Regions from separate parts of the Homo sapiens genome. Here all the other regions are linked to region 5. The links are contacts of gene promoters, found by promoter capture Hi-C in blood cells and fetal thymus (Javierre and others, 2016). All regions are on one chromosome and are shown on one strand. Each heading gives the region's core, a stretch centred on a gene start or on the middle of the fragment in contact. The rest is flanking DNA. Distances are from core to core; before and after follow the strand shown.

Region 1 (3,651 bases), core at 970-3,469, 1.3 Mb before region 5:
ATGCCCATGTGTGAACTGACCCAAGGCGGCAGAGGAAAGGCGCTGAGAACTGCACAATGGCATGGATGGCACACCTGGGACCTGAACAGCAATACGAAGGTTTTGAAAAGTAAGTTCAAACTGGATCCACAGCCCACAGAGGCAGTCTGAACCTAACCAGGTTAACTGCCCGCTAAAGTGAAACCAAAAAACCAAAAATATTTTCCAGAGGATTTTAACAGCATCCAGTTTTGTAACAAAATATTCAAATGTCCATGACATACTCCAAAATTATGTGACATGAAAAATAAGGAAGCCAAGATATCTAAGGTCACACAGCACACAAACAGTTAAAGCCAGGGCTAAAACTCAAGTTTTCTAACTAACTATATGCCCAGGGCTTTCTCCACAGCCAGGTGACCTTGCTAGACAGTACTGTAACCCCAAAGTTAAGGGCTTAAGATACTGAACCAAATTAATTATTTAAACCTGAATCTGACCAAATGACAGAAATAAAGTGTGTGTCTATTTTGCTTTCTTATCTATCTAGAATTCAAATACTGAAGACTTGTGTGTGCCACAGACCTAAATCTCAAGGTGACTAGTCTTCAGAAGACCAGGCTCTACTTCTACTTCTCCAGGTAATGTGTGCTCATTCTACCAGCAACAAATATTCCAGCTTGGGCCACTTTTCCTTTTTTTTTTCTTTGAGACGGAGTTTCACTCTTGTTGCCCAGGCTGGAGTGCAATGGCGTGACTCAGCTCGCTACAACCTCCGCCTCCCGGGTTCAAGCGATTCTCCTGCCTCGGCCTTCCTGAGTAGCTGGGATTACAGGTGCCCACCACCACGCCCGGCTAATTTTATATTTTTAGTAGAGACAGGGTTTCACCATGTTGGTCAGGCTGGTCTCGACCTCTCGACCTCAGGTGATCTGCCTGCCTCGGCCTCCCAAAGTGCTGGGATTACAGGCGTGAGCCACCGCATCCGGCCAGGCCACTTATTTTTTAAGACTTAAAAATTCTGCTCAGACTTGGCCAGTCGTGGTCTCACGCCTGTAATCCCAGCACTTTGGGAGGAAGAGGCGGGTGGATCACCTGAGGTGGGGAATTCGAGACCAGCCTGATCACGCCATTGCACTCCAGCCTGGGTAACAAGAGCTAAAATCTATCTCCAAAAAAAAGAAAAAAAAAATTCTGCTCAGACTCAAAACTCCTCTTTGAAATCTTTCCTAAGGAAGACCAAACCACTCATTCTCCCTCTTCAGTGATACCATTTCACAGTAATAGTCTTTGTAATACTTTTTGCACTCCTTTATTTGCCTGTTGCTCACCTGTTATGAAATTTTCCGACTTCTTTAAGGGACATCTTATTCATTAATTCTTCATCTCCTGGGTCTAACATAGTACATGATATATTATAGATATTCAATATGATAAACTGACTTTTTTTTTTTTTTTTTGAGACAGGGCCTTGCTCTGTCGCCCAGGCTACAATGCAGTGGCAAAATCATGGCTCACTGCAGCTTTGACCTCCTGGGCCCCAGCAATCCTCCCGCCTCAGCCTCCTGAATAGCTGGGACCACAGGCATGTGCCATCAGACTCAGCTAATAATTTTTTAAATTTTTTGTAGAGAAGAGGTCTCCCTAATGTTTCTTAGACTGGACCCTGTTTATCAAGCTTTGACAAGGCACCAAATATCATGCCATGCACTCTGCATGTTATCGCAATTAGTCTTTATAATCCTATGAACCCACTTTTCAGATGAGGAGAAAAGTATGCAATTGAGGTAAAGTAACCCGCCTGGGGTCACATATTTAATAAACCTCAGGTGTGAATGAATTCATGGAGGCTTGCTTTGTAGTAGAAACCACTATCATCTGGGCAGTTAGATTCTCACTTTATTAAGTTTTGTGGATTTTCATAATTATGTCTCTGTCCTGATTATAGATATTAAAAGATACTCTAGCTGTAAATATATCAGCTATAATGCTAAACTGGAATATACCAAAATTAAAGAATATTCTTAACTCTTTTTTGTTTTCTTTACTCCCCTAGGCATCAAAGGGAAAAAAGGAGTTTCTAGGCAACCCATTCAGAACAAAGAATACGTACACAATGAAATAGATATAAAACCAAAACCCAAGAACCCTAAAAGAAGCTAAAATTCTGTAATTACGTAGGCAAACATTTATTTCCTGCTGTTTTAGATTTTGATGCTGGTGGTAGGGGAGGAGTTACTGCAGTAGCAGAAGAAAAAGCATGGTAATTAATAGCACAAACTTAATTCCTTGCTAGTTGGACAACCCTGGGCAAGTAACCTTTTAGAGCCTGCTTCCTGAAGTGTAAATTATTACAAATAACACCACTTCCCTTTTTGAAAAGAAAAGAAAAGAAAAGAAAAGACAGGGTCTATGTTGCCCCAGGCTGGCCTCGAACTCCTGGGCTCAAGCAATCCTCCTGCCTCAGCCTCCCGAGTAGCTGGGACTACAAGCACAAGCCATCCTGCCCAACATCAAACGATTGCTGTGAGCCTTAGACAATACACAAAACTACATATCACAACGCCTGGCACTTGGCAGGTTATTATTAGAAAAATGTCTAGAAAGTACAAAAATCACTTTTTGCTTCAAGGTAACAGGTATTGATCCATCCCATTGTAGAGCCAGAATTTCCTCTAAATGCTACTTCAGTTCATTTTTCCTAGCTTTCTCCCTATTATGGCAGCCCACTTCACACTGCATGTCATCTGTACCTCTGCTAATACATCACTACTTCTGCTATAGAGTACAGTAAAAGCTTCTACTGTAACCTGCAGCATCTCCAGCAGTCTGAAACATAAGCCCACTGAACAAAGATAGTAATTCACGTTTAATACTTGTTTTCAAAAAACAATGACCACCAGTTTCCACAATGGAAAAGACCAACATCTACCATCTAAGTTTTTCCTGGCAGATCATTCAACCAAGCACTTCACTGAAAGTAAGACTTCTCAGGTATCAAAAGAACAATTTATCTACCTTTACCTACAGGAACTACTGATGCCTATTTCCTATGGTGTCTTGATAAACTGTCTAAAACTGCTTCACCAATTGTTTGCTAAGTATTGTATTTAAAACAAGCATTTAAATAAAATGGCTTCTTTGATTTATTAAATAAAAAAACAACAAGAATCATTTACCTTCTATCTCCACCAATGGTTCTTGGGTAAACTCCTGAAAGAATTTGTAGAAGAACTTACTACAAGCAGCCAAAACAGCCTTGTGAGCCTTAAAATGGTGTCCTAGGTAAAATAAGAAAAAAAAAGAAAATCATACACAAGCACGAAAATCAAATGTATAACTACAAAATAGACTTAAAAATCATATAAAGCAAAATAGGTCTTCCTTCATTACGTAACTACAGAAATTATTGAACTAAATGCAGAATATTCTTGGCAGCTATCTTGGCAAATGTTAATCTCAATTAGATATAAAGCTAAATCTTCACTTCAAACCCCTTTAGTTTTATAAAGCCTAATTTACAACACTAGGTAAGGAGCCTCTTGACACTCTGTTGTTTCCAATTAAGTAGTGAGAAGCATATCCAACTCAGTTGAAACTGCTAAATAAAAGGACAACCCAAAAGGTCACATATCATTTGGAAAGAGAGAAAAAAACCGTAAGCACAAAGCT
Region 2 (3,155 bases), core at 640-3,139, 1.2 Mb before region 5:
AATTTCTGAGTAGTCCATGTATGAGTGGTGGTGATTTCTCTGCAGTCTATATTAACCCATCCAGCTTCAGCTGACAAGACTTCAGGAAAAGTGCAGTTTAATTTCAGCAGTTCAAAGCCAGAAGGGTAGAAGAAAAATCAGAAATATTAGTTTTAAGAGCCATAGCTAGACTTTTTTTTTTTTTAGGTGAAGTCTTGCTCTGTCGCCCAGGCTGGAGTACAGTGTCACCATCTCCACTCACTGCAACATTCACCTCTGTGTTCAAGCAATTCTCCTGCCCCTGCCTCCCGAGTAGCTAGAATTACAGGTGCACACCACCACACCCAGCTAATTTTTGTATTTTTTGTAGAGATGGGTTTTCACCATGTTGGCCAGGCTGGCCTCGAACTCCTAGCCTCAAGTGATCCACCTGCCTCAACCTGCCAAAGTGCTGGGATTACAGGCATGAGCCAATGCGTCCAGCCCTTTTTTTTTTTTTTTTTGAGATGGGGTCCTTGCTTTGTAATTGAGGCTGGAGTGCAGTGGCACAAACAAGGCTTACTGCAGCCTCAACCTCCTTGGCTCAAGCAATCCTTCCACCTCCACCTTCCAAGCAGCTGCAACCACAGGCGCATGCCTCCATGCCCAGCAAATTTTTGAACTTTTTGTAGAGACGGTGTTTCGCCTTTTGCCCAGGCTGGTCTCGAAGTCTTGGGCTTCAGCAATCCTCCCACCTCGACCTCCCAAAGTGCTGGGATTGCAGTTGCGAGCTCTGACACCCAGCCCATTGCCAGATATTACAGGAAACAAAAAATTCAAGATCCAGTCTAGATTTCAGGTAGACGAAAAAACCTCAAAAACAATGAGCTAGAGTCTAATAACAGGTGCACTATATTTTTTTCTCTGAAAGTTTTTTCTCTATACTTACTCCCTTTTTATCAAACATCATCAAAGTATTAGTAAGAGTAATCTGTTTGCAAAATAAATTTAGTGTCTTTAAAGTTGGCCTAATATTTACACAAGTGCAGCAGGAATAGTGTTTTACCACACAGGGTCTCTTTAAGTTGGCTTTTCTGGATCTTTTAATAAGGAATCTCAAATTAGACTTTTAAAAGCCTCTCAAGGCTAGGAAACCATACCAGGATCTTGCTATCACACTTTGCCTGGAATACCTATAGATTTCGGTGAATTCTTCCCTTGTCAAGGTCCTCCAAATATCCTGATGTTCCTCAGCCTGCCAGGAAGTGACATTTCTTACCCACCTGTAAGGCCAGGAACCCTTTTAAACCAGACCAGTTTCTCAAGTCTGAGTGTGTTGTTTCTGTTCCTAAAAACCACAAAAGAAAGAAAACAGTGATATTACATTCAACGTGGTAACAACTCTGAATCTTTGTTCTAACAGTGGAAATATAATATCTCTAGGGATTAAGCCCGGTCTCCAGAATGTACCCGGGCCATAGGAAAATAACATCCAGATGTTTTTTAACAGCACCTACAAGGACGAGCTGAGGGTTTCTCAGTATAGGGGAAACTGTCACAAGGTGTACCCTCTTTTCTTTTGAAGCAGTAAAAGCAGTTCTCATTCTTCCCCATTCTTTGTTCAAAGCATATGAGATATGAGCCAGCTTTATAGTTATTGTCATGCTACCTTACATGCATGTAAATCTGTTAAGGCTAATTCAATACTAGTGTTCTGTCTCTCTTCTGTTGGGTACACAGGGGTCTTTTTGTGTCAGGATTGTTTTATTTCTCCCACAGTGGATATATTCTTCCCCTTTCTTTCATCCTAAGTGGATTATTCTTAGAAGCTTATCCTAAGTGGATTATTCTTAGATAGGGCTTCCTAGAAGATGGTTCCATGTGATCAAGCAAACTGTTGTGTTCAAGGTAGGTTCAGTTAATAGTACCCAATGTTCATAAAAGTAGTGGGGGATTCTCTTTAAAAAAAAGAATAAAAATTTTGAGTACAAAATTACAGACCTGTTCAAACGGATCCTAAAAGCTAAGCTTCCTTAGCTGCATGGTAAATTCGCCTCTGACCCTGCGTGATACCCAGTATGGGCCAATAAGGTAGTGTTGCAGGAAACTGAGGACCAGAGAGACTGATATGGAGAACAGGAGGATTGTTTATTTTAGGTACGCACCGGCTCAGTGGATTTGCATCCAAAAAGCTGAGCCTAGAACAAAGACAGAGTGGGGTTTTTATAAGCTGGCTTACAAAAGTAAAACAAAAGCAGCTAATCATATGATAGGTCACATAATCTATAGCATAGCATAACTTGTGGCCTTGCATAGTCGGTGGTCTTGTGCCTGCATTGAAAGAAAAACAAGAACTGGCTAAATACAGACATTTGTAAAACATAATCTCGCTTAAGAAGCCTGGGAGAGGAGTAACAGTAAAAGAATTTGTCTTTCTTTTTTTTTTTTTTTCATTCAACCTTGCTCTGGAGCAGGGGCGGGTGTCTGGAGCCCATTCCTTTGGACTTGGCTTTCCGGACAGGGGTATCTTATAACTGTCTTTGAAGTGAGCTTGCTAGGCAGAGGAGAACTTGTTCTTTTCTTTTTAACCCTTGCCCTGCCTGTTACTTTTCTTGGAGTGAATGAATGCGTATTTATTTTTAAATTTTCTGCCTCAGTAGCACACCATTGAATTGTCTCTCACTCCTTCCTATTCTAATTACCCTGTCTTTTAACTCCCACTCTCTTAAAAAAACCACTTTTGAATTAAAAAGTGGCACATAAGTTTTCACTTTAGCTAATGCTTCCTGTGGAAGCCAGGCCAATAAAATATGCCTCTCTGTTTACCTTATATGCTTTGACTTTTTTCTTCTGCAGACTGAATCCTAAATAATTCAATCTGTATTGAAAAGATTATGAGGATGCCTACAAAAATAGAATGATTCAGGTCACTATTGACCTTTGAATGGCCCCGAATGAGACATGATGCCAGTATTTAATAAGTCTGCCTGAGCAGGGCAGAAAAATTAAAAGGCCCTTTTAAATATCAAGCAAGTATGAATATTTATATGCCTATTTTGTATATCACTCTTGTCAATCCCCCAATTTTTTGGTTAGCCAAGAGCTCTCATGATCACAGGTGATAAAAATTATAATGTATTAGCATATTGAATCCAGCAATATATGTTTTAAAAAATACATCATGATCCAGTGGGATT
Region 3 (3,541 bases), core at 969-3,468, 1.0 Mb before region 5:
TATCACCATTATAAGATTTTTTTGTAAGCCTCATGGTGCTCATGGTAACCACAAAGCAAAAACCTATAGTAAGTAAAAAAGGATTTTTTTAAAAAAGAAATCAAAACATATAAGCATAACACTGGAGGAAATTTCTTAATCACAAAGAAAGACCAACAAGAGAAGAAAAAAACAAAGGTTCTACAAAACAATCAGAAAACTATTTAAAAAATGGCAATAGCAAATCCTTATCTATCAATAATTATCTTGAGTTTAAAAGAATTAAATTCTTCCATCAAAAGTCATAGAGTGGCTGAATGAATAAAAAAAAACACCCAATCATAACCTGCCTACAAGAGACTCACTTCATCTGTAAGAATACAACACATAGAATGAAAGTGATATAAATGGAAACCAAGAGAAAGCAGGAATAGCTATACTTAGAACAGGTAAAATAAATTTTAAGTCAAAAAGTGTAAAATGAAACAAAGAAGGTCATTATGTAATGATAAGAGGTTAATTTAGCCAAAGGACATAACGAATGTAAATATATACATGCCCACACAAAAGTACCTAAATATATACAGCAAATAGTAATAGATCTGAAGGAAGAGATTAGACTATAACACAATAACAGTAAGAGATTGCTATACTTAACTTTTAGCAATGGACAGATCATCCACATAGAAAAATCAATAAGGAAACACTAGCCTTAGACTATACCTTAGACCAAATGGACCTAACAGACATACACAGGACATTCCTTGCAATAGCTGCAGAATACACATTCTTCTTAAGCACAAAAGGAACATTCTCCAGGACAGATAATATGTAATCATATATGCCACAAAATATGTCTTAACAAATTTAAGAAGATTGAAATCATATCAAATATCTTTTTTGAACAGAATGATATAAAACTAGAAATCAAGAGAAATTTTGGAAAACTCACAAACACATAGAAATATTCAATAAAAGATCTAGTCTGTAATCCAGAACTACTGAGTCAAAGCTTCCAACTGTGAGGGCTAAGAAGTTTTGTTTTAAAAATTTCTGATATGGCAAGTTCAATAATATGAAATCTAGCTAGAACTAGTGATAACGTTTGGTAGATTTACCCCAAATTATTCTTTGTGAATAATTTTATTTATTCATTTTATATACAATTATGGGATGATATTGTATATTGTATTTGTATTCAGGCAGAACCCCAAGCCCAATTAGCTTAAGCAAACAGAGTTTATTGGCTTATGACTGAGAAGTCTAAAGCTGGTTCTGACTTTAATAACTACTCAACCTAGGGTGTCTGATATCTTCACCATCTTTATTTGGGAGTTAAGGCCTTTCTTTTCCTTAACCAAGTTCTAGGAAGAAAAGGTCCAGGACTTGTTTTCATTAGCCTGTCTTTCATGATGTACCAAGGAAATGAGTTACCTTAATTTAATCTAATTAACGTTTTTGACCTATGTGGGTTGGAGTCAAAGCACCACTTGAAACACGTGAGATGTTTTTCCCATAGGAAAGGGAAGTTCTATTAGCAGAAGAAGGAGGGGAAAGACATCTGCTGATCAGAAGAAAATAACAGATGTGATTAACACGCACTACATAGTTCTGCTTCCTGCTGTTTTCACTTAATGTTGTATACTCATCACTTTTTCATATCCTCAAAAATTCTTTGAAAATCTGATATTTTATTACCACACAATATTCTACTTTATATGGACAGTCTATTGGTTATCAATTGCTGCAAAATAAATTACCCTCAACAGCGTAAAACAACAAAAAATCTATTATATCCTATAGTTTCTCAGTGTCAGGAATACCTGAGTGGCTTAGCTGGGTAGTTTTGGCCACATTCTGTCATGAGTTTGCAGTCAAGCTGTCCGCTAGAGGGAAGATGTTGGTCAAAGGGCACACAATTTCAGTTATATAAGATAAATAAGTCCTAGAGACCTACTGTACAGCATAGCACCTGTAGTTAAAGATACTGTATTGAATACCTAATTTTCTAAGAGCATAGATCCTAAATGCTCTTATCACAAAATAAAATATAAAATAAAAGAGGCTCCTGCTTTTTGTCTTTCCACATTCTGCCCCAGGCCATCTCCCAGGCCCTGGGAACATCTTTGGCTTGTGCAAGAGCAGATCAGAAGTGCCAGGGGTTAAAGCCCTTGAGACCAACCCTTGGGAGAATGGTGTTGGAGTATTTGCTCCGCCTTCCATCTTTCAGGTGAACCATTCAGAGAAAGTCTGTACACCACTCAGAAGTCCCAGCAGAATTGAATCTCCATTGCTGATGGCAGGGACCTCAGTAATGCATCCTTACATGAGCTCTCCCTGCTTCCTCATGTCCCTCTCCAAGCTCCCTTGACCTGGTTCCCTAGTAGATCTTTTTAAATAAACTGCTTGCACCTAGTCCTTGTCTCAGGGTTTGAGTTCAAGGAAATACAAAACAAATCACCCTTTAAAACTATTTTTAAAAATTATATGGCATCAATATTTCAAACAGTTATGTAGCAACCATCTTGTTGAGCTAAACTCAAAGTCCCAGAAAAGGGAACAAGGATTCTTTACTGTCATACTAAGTAAATGTAATATTGTGTACATACCCTGTCTTACTGTGTTTTTGAATTAGTTAAAAGCCATCTCCATATTTTCTTAAGTAAACACATTATAGCCAATTGCACAATAGATGCTAACAGAAAACATTACTTTTCAGATATGGAATGTTCTAAGCAATATATTTCAAAGATTGTAAGAGATTTTCCTCCAAGAAAATGAGAGTAATTAAAATCCTCCGTATTTGGCATCCTCTTTCCTGGGATGATTAAGGCCTCCAGCTCTTGGCAGGTCAAGCCATTAAGGAAATCTGTGTGGCCATTTGAACAGGAAGGATTATACACTGACTACAGTTATCACTGGTCCAGAGGTAGAACATGCCAAAACTACTATTCAGGATAATTTTGAACTTGCTGATATGTCAATTTCAGTAAACAGAGTAACAAAGGACAGCCTGAAGTTTCCTGGGCTGGTGATGTGTGAACCCCCACGATTCTATGCAAGTCCAATTGCTAGAGAAGTGGCTTCAAATCAACTCTAAATTACTTTGGGCATATAGGAGGAGGGGAAGGAAGATGGCTACTCCATTAGTCCTCTTTATCCTTAATTTTTACAAATTGTGTGTATACTTTACGCAGTAGAAATTTACACTACAAATTCTGAATAAATCAACATGCTATCATTGTTTACCATCACTATAAAATGGTGGAAGAGTAAGTCCATTTATTCATGCAGAGATGAAACAGTTTTAAATTTATATTTTAACCTCATTAAAATTCTCAACTTACAAAAAGAACTACTAGCCAATCTCTTAGCCCAAGTGTCTGTTAAAACACTTGTTTGTTTGGGAACTTAACTGAAAACACAATTCTCAAGGAAATTGGCAGAATTATAACTATAAGCTTATAGTGACTCAATATATATTAAAAAGTTAAGGTAAAAAATATAAGAAAATGCTAATATGTAAACACTGCAAATATTTTAGTGAAGTAGAAAATACTTC
Region 4 (3,575 bases), core at 380-2,879, 1.1 Mb before region 5:
GGCCTGGAAACTTTGTTTTTTGTATGCAGTTCAGCCAGTTCTAGCTAAGATGTAAACATTGGAAACTAATTTGGAACTGAAGGAAAAAATGGTTAAAAAAAGTTTTAGATATAAAACTACTATGGAAACTGCATTAGCCAAAGGTTTGGTCCACAGCATTAACTGGATTACCTATCAGGGCAGATAAAGTTTAGCCATGTGGACAGGTCCCAGTTTTGTCCTGTCCTGAAATAATTTGGATCCACTCCAGCTGCCTTTTGTAAAATAATGAGTTTATGATGCCATGTCATGGCTAGAGTTTCACGGTAACATCTATTTGATCTTTGTGTGTATGGATACGTGTTTCTATGTGTTTCTGTGCGTGTTACATGTATTATGTTGTATGTTATGTCCAAAATGGCACCATATTGGCTTATAAGTAAATGAGTGCTTACAAATTTAGCAAGAAAGTCCAAATGCTTTTCAAATTTGTGTGAATTTAGTAGTCTTTAATAATAAGCTTGCTTTAAAACTATTCACAAAATAAAAATAGAAATGTCTTTGGAATGGTAAACATACATTTTTTTCTGGGTTTACTAATTAGATGAGTTTTATATTTGCCTTTGCTAAATATTTGAACATGCTAGAATTTTACATGAAGGTTATAAGATCATAAACTCAACCAAAAACAGAATAATCTTTCTTTGAATGACTTTTTTGATAAATAAGACTAATTTAATATTGTTGGTTCCATAAGAATAATTAATTTTTCTGTATTATCAGAAAAAAATGCCCATGTGTTTAAGATTTTTGCATAGGTGAACACCTGATATTCACAGGCCATGCAAATTGTTAACAAAGAAATAACTTGGAGCGATAATTAGTGTTGTCTAATGTCTTAGTTCTAAGAACTAATCTAGATAAACTGCTATAGGTGAATAAATTGAATAAATGTAAATGGAATCAATGCTTGTAGGTGAACTTTTAATGTAACTTAAACTATTAAAATTATTTCAGATACCATTGAATGTCTGGGTCATTTCCAATTAAAAAAGAATTGTGACATTGGGCATTGGTCACACTTCTGAATCCATTAATGTGAAATAAAATCTATGCTATGAGTTAAGCATTAGAGCATTAGTGGACCTCAAATGAGCTGAATAAGAATAAGGTCTGAGTCTGGAAAGTAATCAAGCTACAAAAAGGGGATTGGCCCAATGGATGCCTGTGTACTTGCCCCCATACAGGCAAGCAATGAATGTGAAACAATATCACCTGCCAGAGGGGCACTGAAGTAACCCAAATAATCCAGGGTGCTGGAGTGAGATGCTGTCTCAGAATTAATTAATTAATTAATTAATCAATGCATTGTATTCTCTGCTGCACCTTTTTTTAAAAAAAATCTCTGTCTTCTGAAATGCCTGAAGAAAGAAAATAGTCTCAGTTGATGCAGGCCCTGAGATGGGCAGAGATTATGAGATCATCACATACACTTGGTGCTATGGACTGAATTGTCTTCCCCAAAATTCATGATGATTTTGATTAATCCACAAGGTGATGGTATTTAGAGATGGAGCCTTTGGGAGACAAGCACGTTAAGATGAAGTTACGAGGTTGGGGCTTTCATAATGGGATTGGCGGCCTTCCGAGAAAAGGAAGAGATACCATGTCCTTCTTGTTCTCTCCCCTTCTCCCTCTCTCCCTTTCTCCCCCTTTCTCTCTTTTTCTTTCCCTCTGTGCCATGTGAGAACACAGCAACAACATGGCCATTGGCACGACAGAAAGAGAATCCCCACCAAGAGCTGAATCTGGTGCTTTGATCTTGGACTTCCAGATCGTGGGTAAGACTCACCAGGGGAGAATTCTGTAGGTGCCTGGAATTGTCAGATCTAGAGTTAATGCCCTGGAACTCTGTGGTTGTCAACTCAGAAGGCACAAGGCTATAAATCTTCCTGTGGTCCTCTTTAATCTGCCTTCGCTTTTTGTTTTTTGTTTTGTTTGGATTTTCAAGTAACAAATTTATTTTTCCAGTTAACATAACCAGTCCATGGTACAGCATATTAAATCACAAACTACAAATCCAAGGACCTTTTGCAACCTTTACCAGGTTGCAAAACTTTGGCAAATCAATGTAGTACATTTTATTACAATGAAAGCATTTTTGTTAGAGTCATATATTATTTTAGTGATAATTTTCACTCCAAATATACTTAAGTAGTAAACCAAAACACTGGTTCATTTGTTTGTTTGTTTTGTTTTGTTTTGTTTTTGAGATGGAGTCTTGCACTGTAGCCCGGGCTGAAGTGAAATGGTGTGATCTGAGCTCACTGCAACCTCCGCCTCATAGGTTCAAACGATTCTCCTGCCTCAGCCTCCCAAGTAGCTGGGATTACAGGTGCCCACCACCACGCCTGGCTAATTTTTTTGTATTTTTAGTAGAGATGGGGTTTCACTATGTTGGCGAGGCTGGTCTCAAACTCCTGACCTCGTGATCTGCCCTCCTTGGCCTCCCAAAGCAGTGGGATTACAGGTGTGAACCACTGCACCCGGCAAACACTGGTTTTTAATGATGGTTTAAAATAACTTGCAGAGCAAGTTATTATTAATAAACATATTAATATGTTTGAAAGCTATACAAGTTCTCCTTTTAAATTGAATTTCCTCATGCAAGGTGTTGAAGTTTACAGCAGCAGGACAATTGTTTGTATGTAAGAGATGGCTCTGCTTTGTTCTGGGGTTGGACCAAAGCCAGGTGGTGTTCCAAAGTATGAAAAGCTTTAAAATTCTACCTTAAGTTGATTCAATGTCAATGCAAACTTCCAAGTACTTTTTAAAAAAATGTTAAAATTTTGCTTATACACAATTGGTGAGAGTGTAAATTAGTGTAAATATTTCCACCATTGTGGAAAACAGCATGGCAATTCCTCAAAGACCAAATAACAGAAATACCATTTGACCCAGCAATCCCATTACTGGGTATGTACCAAAGGAATATAAATTGTTCTACCATAAAGACCATACATGCATGTGCACTATTCACAATAGCAAAGACATGGAATCAACCTAAATGTCCTTTAATGGTGGACTGGATAAAGAAAATGTGGTATATATACACCATGGGATACTATGCAGCCATAAAAAAGAACAAGATCATGTCTTTTGCAGGAACATAGATGGAGCTGGAGGCTGTTTTTTCTTAGCAAACTAATGCAGGAATAGAAAAACAAATACCACATGTTCTCACTTACAAGCTGGAGATGACATGGACATGGACACAAAGAGGGGAACAACAGACACTGGAGCCTATTGAAGGTGGATGATGGAAGGAGGGAGAAGATCAGGAAAAATAGTAATGGGCACCAGGCTTCATACCTGGGTGATAAAATAATGTGTACAACAAACTCCCATGACACAAGTTTACCAAAATAACAAACCTGCATATGTACCCTGAATTTAAAATAAACATTAAGAAGAATAATTTCTTTCAATGTTAAATTTTTCATAAATACTGGAATCTCCAATATTAGACAGTCATTTCAAATAACACTAATTTCAGACGATCCGTTTTATTTAGACGCCATGCATCTCTTTGTTTT
Region 5 (3,296 bases), core at 524-3,023:
TTTCCCCCCAATCCAACTTCTTAAAATGTGTTGAAATACCAACTAGCAATAAGTTAATTTCTCCAGTGTAATTGAATAGTCTAACTTGGTATCTTACTCCTTAACTGATTTTGACTAAAATTATAATATTTACAGGAAAAAAAAAAGTTCAGAGTTAAAAGAATACCATGAAAGGGCAAATGATTTTATGGACAAACTTTGAACTGCATCTTCACTGTTCATTACCTTACTGTATTTGCTAAGGAAGCTAAGATCTCATTTAATTTTTGTGTGCTTTGCTTTGGTTCAAAACTAACATCACATTCTCAGAACTTGGTCAGGCCTTAATCAAATAAAATGCTATTGAGCTTCCACTTGGTCTTTCCACTCTGCTAAGTGCAAAGACAGTTCTGGAGAAATCAGTCGTGGCTCATGTCCTCAAGGAGTTGGTCAAAAGACAAGGCTTGGCGAATATGTACGTGCCATGTCAATGAACTGCTACAATGGAATAAACTTATAATAATGCCTAACATTTATTGACTCCTCATAATAAGGCCATAAACTTTGCATGAATTAACTCATAGAAACGTTATGACGTTGTATCACAAGCAATCCTAATTTGCAGATGAGGACACTGAGGCTTAGGGAAGTTATCTAACTTGCCTAAGGTTAAAGCAATATACTGCTTTTATGGTTGCATCTTTAGTAATCTCTGGGGTTGCTGGGACTCCAGTGCGAGAAAGAGCCCGAAATTCGCAAACTTGGATGATGGGGAAGAAAAGGTGTGCTAAACTCAGGTCACAGAGGTCCAGTCTTAATCTTGTTCCTCTGCAAGCCTTGTTGCTCACACCTCTTGACCGACAGTTCGAGGCAAGTGCTCACAGCAAACTTACTCTATGTAAGCCAAGGCCAGATGTGGGGAGAAGGGGCTGAGAAATGTTAGAAACGTGAACGCAGTCCAGGCGGGAGAAGAGAAGGGGGCCTCGAGGGGTGCCCCTATGCAGCCCACACACACGCCAGGCACTAACTTGGAAAAGCAACAAGCTTGGCGGGAGATCCTCCCGCGGCCGGAGGGCCCTGAACCCTAGGCCAAGACTCATCCACAACCTAGGGGGAGGCGGCCACCAGCGCCCCATCGAAGCTAAAGGGCTGACAGAAGGGCTGTAGCGGCAAGTGTGCGCCAACACAGCTGCACACGCCCAGACACCTGAGGCGCTGAGAGGAACTTCCCCGCGATCCGCCCCGGCTGCACAGAGCCTCTTCTCCCCGCCGGGGCCCCGCCCAGCCTCACTTCTTTTAAAAGCAGCAGCCAGCAGCGCGCCGGTGGCGTGCGGCTCGAAAGGCCGGGAGGACGTCATCGACGCGCTGTCGAGCCTCCAGCCCGCCCGGGTTTCCTTCGCAGTCGCGCACCGACGCTCAAACGCGCGCTCCAACCCGCAGCCTCCTCCTGCCTCACCGCCCGAAGATGGCGGCTCTCAAACTCCTCTCCTCCGGGCTTCGGCTCTGCGCCTCTGCCCGCGGATCTGGGGCAACCTGGTACAAGGTAAAGTGCGGGGGAAGAGGAAGGCCATGGGCAGGAAGAACGTGGACCAAACCCTGAGTGGTGCCCGCGTTTTCTTCTCTGCCCCTACCCGCTCTCTCCAGCCTGGGATCTGGCATCCGTGGCGCGGTGCCCTGGTCACGGACACGCGGCGACGCGTTCCTGGCCTCGCCGGCCCCTCGGATGACCGCCTTTGCTTGGTTCTGCAGTCGCTTCCCTGATGGAGCGAGACGCGATAAAGAAGCGCGCGGAGAGGCTGAGAAGGGGCGGGAGGACTCCTGGCAGCGCTCCCGAGCCCTTTGGCGCTCGTCGGCTTCCCTCCTGGCACCCGCCCTTGGATAGGGACTCTGAGGGTCTGAACGGGGGGAGGAGGGCGCCAGTATATGGAGGTTTAGGAGTGAGGCAACAGCGGGTAGGTTTGCGCCCCCGATGTTGGATCTCTGGGCAGAGGAACCTCTAGAGGCCCAGAACCTGAGGCTGGGTTAGCCATGGCTCTGCTCGAGTTCACCGGGGCTGGATGCCGGGTGCGGCGGGTGTGGAATGCCGCTCCCATCCTCTCCTCCCTATTTGGCTCTGCTGCCCCGTAGACTGGAGCGCTCGCCAGGGCGTCTTGCCGGCCAAGCTGGGAAACCATCCGAGGTGTGTCCCTGGCCCGCGCCTGGGCTGCAGGGGAGGACAAACCTTTCTCTCGAGGCCCCTCGTATCCGGGTTAGGGGCTTTCGGTTTTCAGAGCCCTTTGAAATCCTTTTTGTGCCCCACTGCCGACTCTCCACCGAGTGGTATCCGGAGGCATTCCCACCGTGGACTGACTTGTGGTTTTGCCTTATGCACTGTCCTCGCTTGTAAGCCCACCCCTGTCTGGAGCCCTAGGAGCGAATTACAGGACCAGAGCGCCAGGTCCAGGAGGGTGGCTTTATCCCCGCCGTCTCAATCGCGGGAGCCTCTTCCTTGGTATTCAGTAATAGGTCTGAGCTTGACAGCGTGCCATGCACACGGTGCTTACTCCTGAAGCGTGCCTGCCTGGCCCCATTGCTCTTTCCTGCATCCAATCCCTGACCGCTGAGAACACAGAGGAGCCACTGAGCTCCTTCGGTAGGTGCTAGGGAATGGTTCAGAACTGGACCATTTTACTCTTAAATGCCTCTTAGGAAGCATTTTTATAACTGCAGATAGACTTGGATATATAAAGCATTATTAAAAGGGAACTTGACCTTCAGTGAGATTGCAGCGGTGCTGAAGCTAATACAAACCAGAGCACAGCGATACCCTTGGGCCGAGGTCAGGAACGTTCCTTCTTTTGACAGTTACTGATTTGCCCAACTGTAATTTACTCACTTCAAGTCTTTTCCATCTTGAGTATATCATTAAACCATTTCCGAAGCTCAGCAAACCTCATCTTAGAGGGACGAGATGCAAATAAGGGGTTCTGCTATATCTCATTAAAAGTTCATACAGAGTTCAAACTTAGCCCTGTCAGGCTTGATTATCATAGGTCTAACTCCTGCCTTCCACTATTCCCCTAGCTTGTGGCTCTTAGTGCCCTTATTGTTTTTTTTTTTTTGAGACGGAGTCTCGCTCTGTCGCCCAGGCTGGAGTGCAGTGGCGGGATCTCGGCTCACTGCAAGCTCCGCCTCCCGGGTTCACGCCATTCTCCTGCCTCAGCCTCCCAAGTAGCTGGGACTACAGGCGCCCGCCACTACGCCCGGCTAATTTTTTGTATTTTTAGTAGAGACGGGGTTTCACCGTTTTAGCTGGGATGGTCTCGATCTCCTGACCT
Region 6 (3,250 bases), core at 327-2,826, 1.1 Mb before region 5:
AGGTTGCAGTGGGCTGAGATCACACCACTGCACTCCAGCCTGGGTGATGGAGCAAGATTCTGTTAAAAACAAAACAAAACAAAACAAAAACAAACACCTCCAGACCAGAATTTCTCAGGGAGGTGGATTTGAGGGTCCCTCCTGTTTCCTCACCTGGCTGCCCTGCTATCATTACATTCTTTTTCTGCTGTAAGCCCTGCTGTTTCAGTGTTTTGGTATATATTTATGTTACTGCACAGCAGATATCCAAACCTGTTGGTCCTGTAACGATCAGGCACATCTTTTGTATTGGTTTGTCTTGTGTTTTTTTTTTTTTTTTTTTTTTTCCAGATGGCCTAATTGGATTATTTCAGCAAGCTAAGTAATTTGAAGAGAGAGGCTAAGCCAATGTAGTACTAGAGCTACACTGGCCTTCTTTGGCTTAACATTTGTCTGGAATTATAATTTCCTCAATCTAAGAAACTAGTCATTGTAAGATGTGTCATTATTTCTTTTTTTATTTTTTATTTTCTTAGTATTTATTGATCATTCTTGGCTGTTTCTCAGAGAGGGGGATTTGGCAGGGTCATAGGACAATAGTGGAGGGAAGGTCAGCAGATAAACATGTGAACAAAGCTCTCTGGTTTTCCTAGGCAGAGCGCCCCGCCGCCGCCTTCCGCAGTGTTTGTGTCCCTGGGTACTTGAGATTAGGGAGTGGTGATGACTCTTAACGAGCATGCTGCCTTCAAGCATCTGTTTAACAAAGCACATCTTGCACCGCCCTTAATCCATTTAACCCTTAGTGGACACAGCACATGTTTCAGAGAGCACGGGGTTGGGGGTAAGGTTATAGATTAACAGCATCCCAAGGCAGAAGAATTTTTCTTAGTACAGAACACAATGGAGTCTCCTATGTCTAGTTCTTTCTACACAGACACAGTAACAATCTGATCTCTTTCTTTTTTTTTTTTTTTTTTTGTGTTTAAACAGCTTTATTTTTTTTTTTTAATTGATCATTCTTGGGTGTTTCTCGCAGAGGAGGATTTGGCAGGGTCATAGGACAATAGTGGAGGGAAGGTCAGCAGATAAACAAGTGAACAAAGGTCTGTGGTTTTCCTAGGCAGAGGACCCTGCGGCCTTCCGCAGTGTTTGTGTCCCTGGGTACTTGAGATTAGGGAGTGGTGATGACTCTTAACGAGCATGCTGCCTTCAAGCATCTGTTTAACAAAGCACATCTTGCACCGCCCTTAATCCATTTAACCCTTAGTGGACACAGCACATGTTTCAGAGAGCACGGGGTTGGGGGTAAGGTTATAGATTAACAGCATCCCAAGGCAGAAGAATTTTTCTTAGTACAGAACACAATGGAGTCTCCTATGTCTAGTTCTTTCTACACAGACACAGTAACAATCTGATCTCTTTCTTTTTTTTTTTTTTTTTTTGTGTTTAAACAGCTTTATTTTTTTTTTTTAATTGATCATTCTTGGGTGTTTCTCGCAGAGGAGGATTTGGCAGGGTCATAGGACAATAGTGGAGGGAAGGTCAGCAGATAAACAAGTGAACAAAGGTCTGTGGTTTTCCTAGGCAGAGGACCCTGCGGCCTTCCGCAGTGTTTGTGTCCCTGGGTACTTGAGATTAGGGAGTGGTGATGACTCTTAACGAGCATGCTGCCTTCAAGCATCTGTTTAACAAAGCACATCTTGCACCGCCCTTAATCCATTTAACCCTGAGTGGACACAGCACATGTTTCAGAGAGCACAGGGTTGGGGGTAAGGTCACAGATCAACAGGATCCCAAGGCAGAAGAATTTTTCTTAGTACAGAACAAAATGAAAAGTCTCCCATGTCTACTTCTTTCTACACAGACACGGCAACCATCCGATTTCTCAATCTTTTCCCCACCTTTCCCCCCTTTCTATTCCACAAAACCGCCACTGTCATCATGGCCCGTTCTCAATGAGCTGTTGGGTACACATCCCAGACGGGGTGGTGGCCGGGCAGAGGGGCTCCTCACTTCCCAGTAGGGGCGGCTGGGCAGAGGCGCCCCTCACCTCCCAGACGGGGCGGCTGGCCGGGCGGGGGGCTGACCCTCCCCACCTCCCTCTCGGACGGGGCGGCTGGCCGGGCGGGGCGCTGACCCCCCCACCTCCCTCCCGGACGGGGTGGCTGCCGGGCGGAGACGCTCCTCACTTCCCAGACGGGGTGGCTGCCGGGCGGAGGGGCTCCTCACTTCTCAGACGGGGCGGTTGCCAGGCGGGGGGTCTCCTCACTTCTCAGACGGGGCGGCTAGGCAGTGACGCTCCTCACCTCCCAGACGGGGTCGCGGCCGGGCAGAGGTGCTCCTCACATCCCAGATGAGGTGGCGGGGCAGAGGCGCTCCCCACATCTCAGACGATGGGTGGCCGGGCAGAGACGCTCCTCACTTCCTAGATGGGATGGCGGCCGGGAAGAGGCGCTCCTCACTTCCTAGATGGGATGGCGGCCGGGCAGAGACACTCCTCACTTTCCAGACTGGGCAGCCAGGCAGAGGGGCTCCTCACGTCCCAGACGATGGGCGGCCAGGCAGAGACGCTCCTCAATTCCCAGACGGGGTGTCGGCCTGGCAGAGGCTGCACTCTCAGCACTTTGGGAGGCCAAGGCAGGCGGCTGGGAGGTGGAGGTTGTAGCGAGCCGAGATCACGCCACTGCACTCCAGCCTGGGCACCATTGAGCACTGAGTGAACCAGACTCCGTCTGCAATCCCGGCACCGCGGGAGGCCGAGGCTGGCGGATCACTGGCGGTTAGGAGCTGGAGACCAGCCCGGCCAACACAGCGAAACCCCGTCTCCACCAAAAAAATACGAAAACCAGTCAGGCGTGGCGGCGCGCGCCTGCAATCGCAGGCACTCCGCAGGCTGAGGCAGGAGAATCAGGCAGGGAGGTTGCAGTGAGCCGAGATGGCAGCAGTACAGTCCAGCTTCGGCTCGGCATCAGAGGGAGACCGTGGAAAGAGAGGGAGAGGGAGACCATGGAGAGAGGGAGGGGGAGGGGGAGGGGTGATCTCTCTTTCTTTTCCCCACATTTCCCCCTTTTCTATTCCACAAAACCGCCATCGTTATCATGGCCCGTTCTCAATGAGCTCTTGGGTACACCTCCCAGACGGGGTGGCGGCTGGGCAGAGGGGCTCCTCACTTCCCAGACGGGGCGGCTGGGCAGAGGCGCCCCCCACCCCCAAGACAGGGCCGTGGCTGGGCTGGGGCTGCCCCCACCTCCCGGACGGGGCGGCTGGCCGG

What was found. The method cuts DNA at HindIII sites, captures the fragments that hold promoters and counts their contacts. A CHiCAGO score of 5 or more calls a contact.
Region 1: a fragment that was not itself captured here is called in contact with the fragment with the promoter of OXCT1-AS1 in region 5 in 2 of 17 cell types (non-activated CD4 T cells and naive CD8 T cells); the score reaches 7.8 in non-activated CD4 T cells.
Region 2: a contact is called between a fragment that was not itself captured here and the fragment with the promoter of OXCT1-AS1 in region 5, in 2 of 17 cell types (naive CD8 T cells and total CD8 T cells). The highest score is 7.5, in naive CD8 T cells.
Region 3: a contact is called between a fragment that was not itself captured here and the fragment with the promoter of OXCT1-AS1 in region 5, in 4 of 17 cell types (M2 macrophages, M1 macrophages, M0 macrophages and 1 more). The highest score is 7.2, in M2 macrophages.
Region 4: a fragment that was not itself captured here is called in contact with the fragment with the promoter of OXCT1-AS1 in region 5 in 1 of 17 cell types (non-activated CD4 T cells); the score reaches 5.2 in non-activated CD4 T cells.
Region 6: a contact is called between a fragment that was not itself captured here and the fragment with the promoter of OXCT1-AS1 in region 5, in 1 of 17 cell types (activated CD4 T cells). The highest score is 5.9, in activated CD4 T cells.

What each region holds. Positions count from the first base shown.
Region 1 is chr5:43,122,818-43,126,468 of GRCh38, reverse strand. It overlaps ZNF131 (zinc finger protein 131), which reads right to left. Exons shown (of 7, transcript NM_001330707.2): 3 at 3,159-3,260. Among named protein-coding and RNA genes, the nearest start is that of ZNF131, 3.7 kb to the right of the region's middle. The HindIII fragment of the contact is 1,119 bases long and covers 1,660-2,778 here.
Region 2 is chr5:43,048,710-43,051,864 of GRCh38, reverse strand. The region is part of intron 2 of ANXA2R-OT1 (ANXA2R overlapping transcript 1); the gene reads left to right. Among named protein-coding and RNA genes, the nearest start is that of ANXA2R-AS1, 8.2 kb to the right of the region's middle. The HindIII fragment of the contact is 199 bases long and covers 1,790-1,988 here.
Region 3 is chr5:42,879,948-42,883,488 of GRCh38, reverse strand. No RefSeq gene overlaps it. Among named protein-coding and RNA genes, the nearest start is that of SELENOP, 70 kb to the right of the region's middle. The HindIII fragment of the contact is 2,449 bases long and covers 994-3,442 here.
Region 4 is chr5:42,918,119-42,921,693 of GRCh38, reverse strand. It overlaps the pseudogene PRELID3BP6. Among named protein-coding and RNA genes, the nearest start is that of FLJ32255, 73 kb to the left of the region's middle. The HindIII fragment of the contact is 2,255 bases long and covers 502-2,756 here.
Region 5 is chr5:41,868,507-41,871,802 of GRCh38, reverse strand. It overlaps OXCT1-AS1 (OXCT1 antisense RNA 1), which reads right to left and starts at 1,773. Exons shown (of 3, transcript NR_046635.1): 1 at 1,611-1,773; 2 at 1,421-1,512; 3 at 1-1,037. It overlaps OXCT1 (3-oxoacid CoA-transferase 1), which reads left to right and starts at 1,378. Exons shown (of 17, transcript NM_000436.4): 1 at 1,378-1,522. The coding sequence starts at 1,445. LOC102723752 (a long non-coding RNA gene) reads right to left here. Exons shown (of 3, transcript XR_925956.4): 1 at 2,201-3,296. RefSeq lists enhancers at 782-831, 1,662-1,741. The HindIII fragment of the contact is 3,584 bases long and covers 1,026-3,296 here.
Region 6 is chr5:42,979,574-42,982,823 of GRCh38, reverse strand. No RefSeq gene overlaps it. Among named protein-coding and RNA genes, the nearest start is that of FLJ32255, 12 kb to the left of the region's middle. RefSeq lists enhancers at 424-1,249, 1,250-2,075. The HindIII fragment of the contact is 9,477 bases long and covers 1-3,250 here.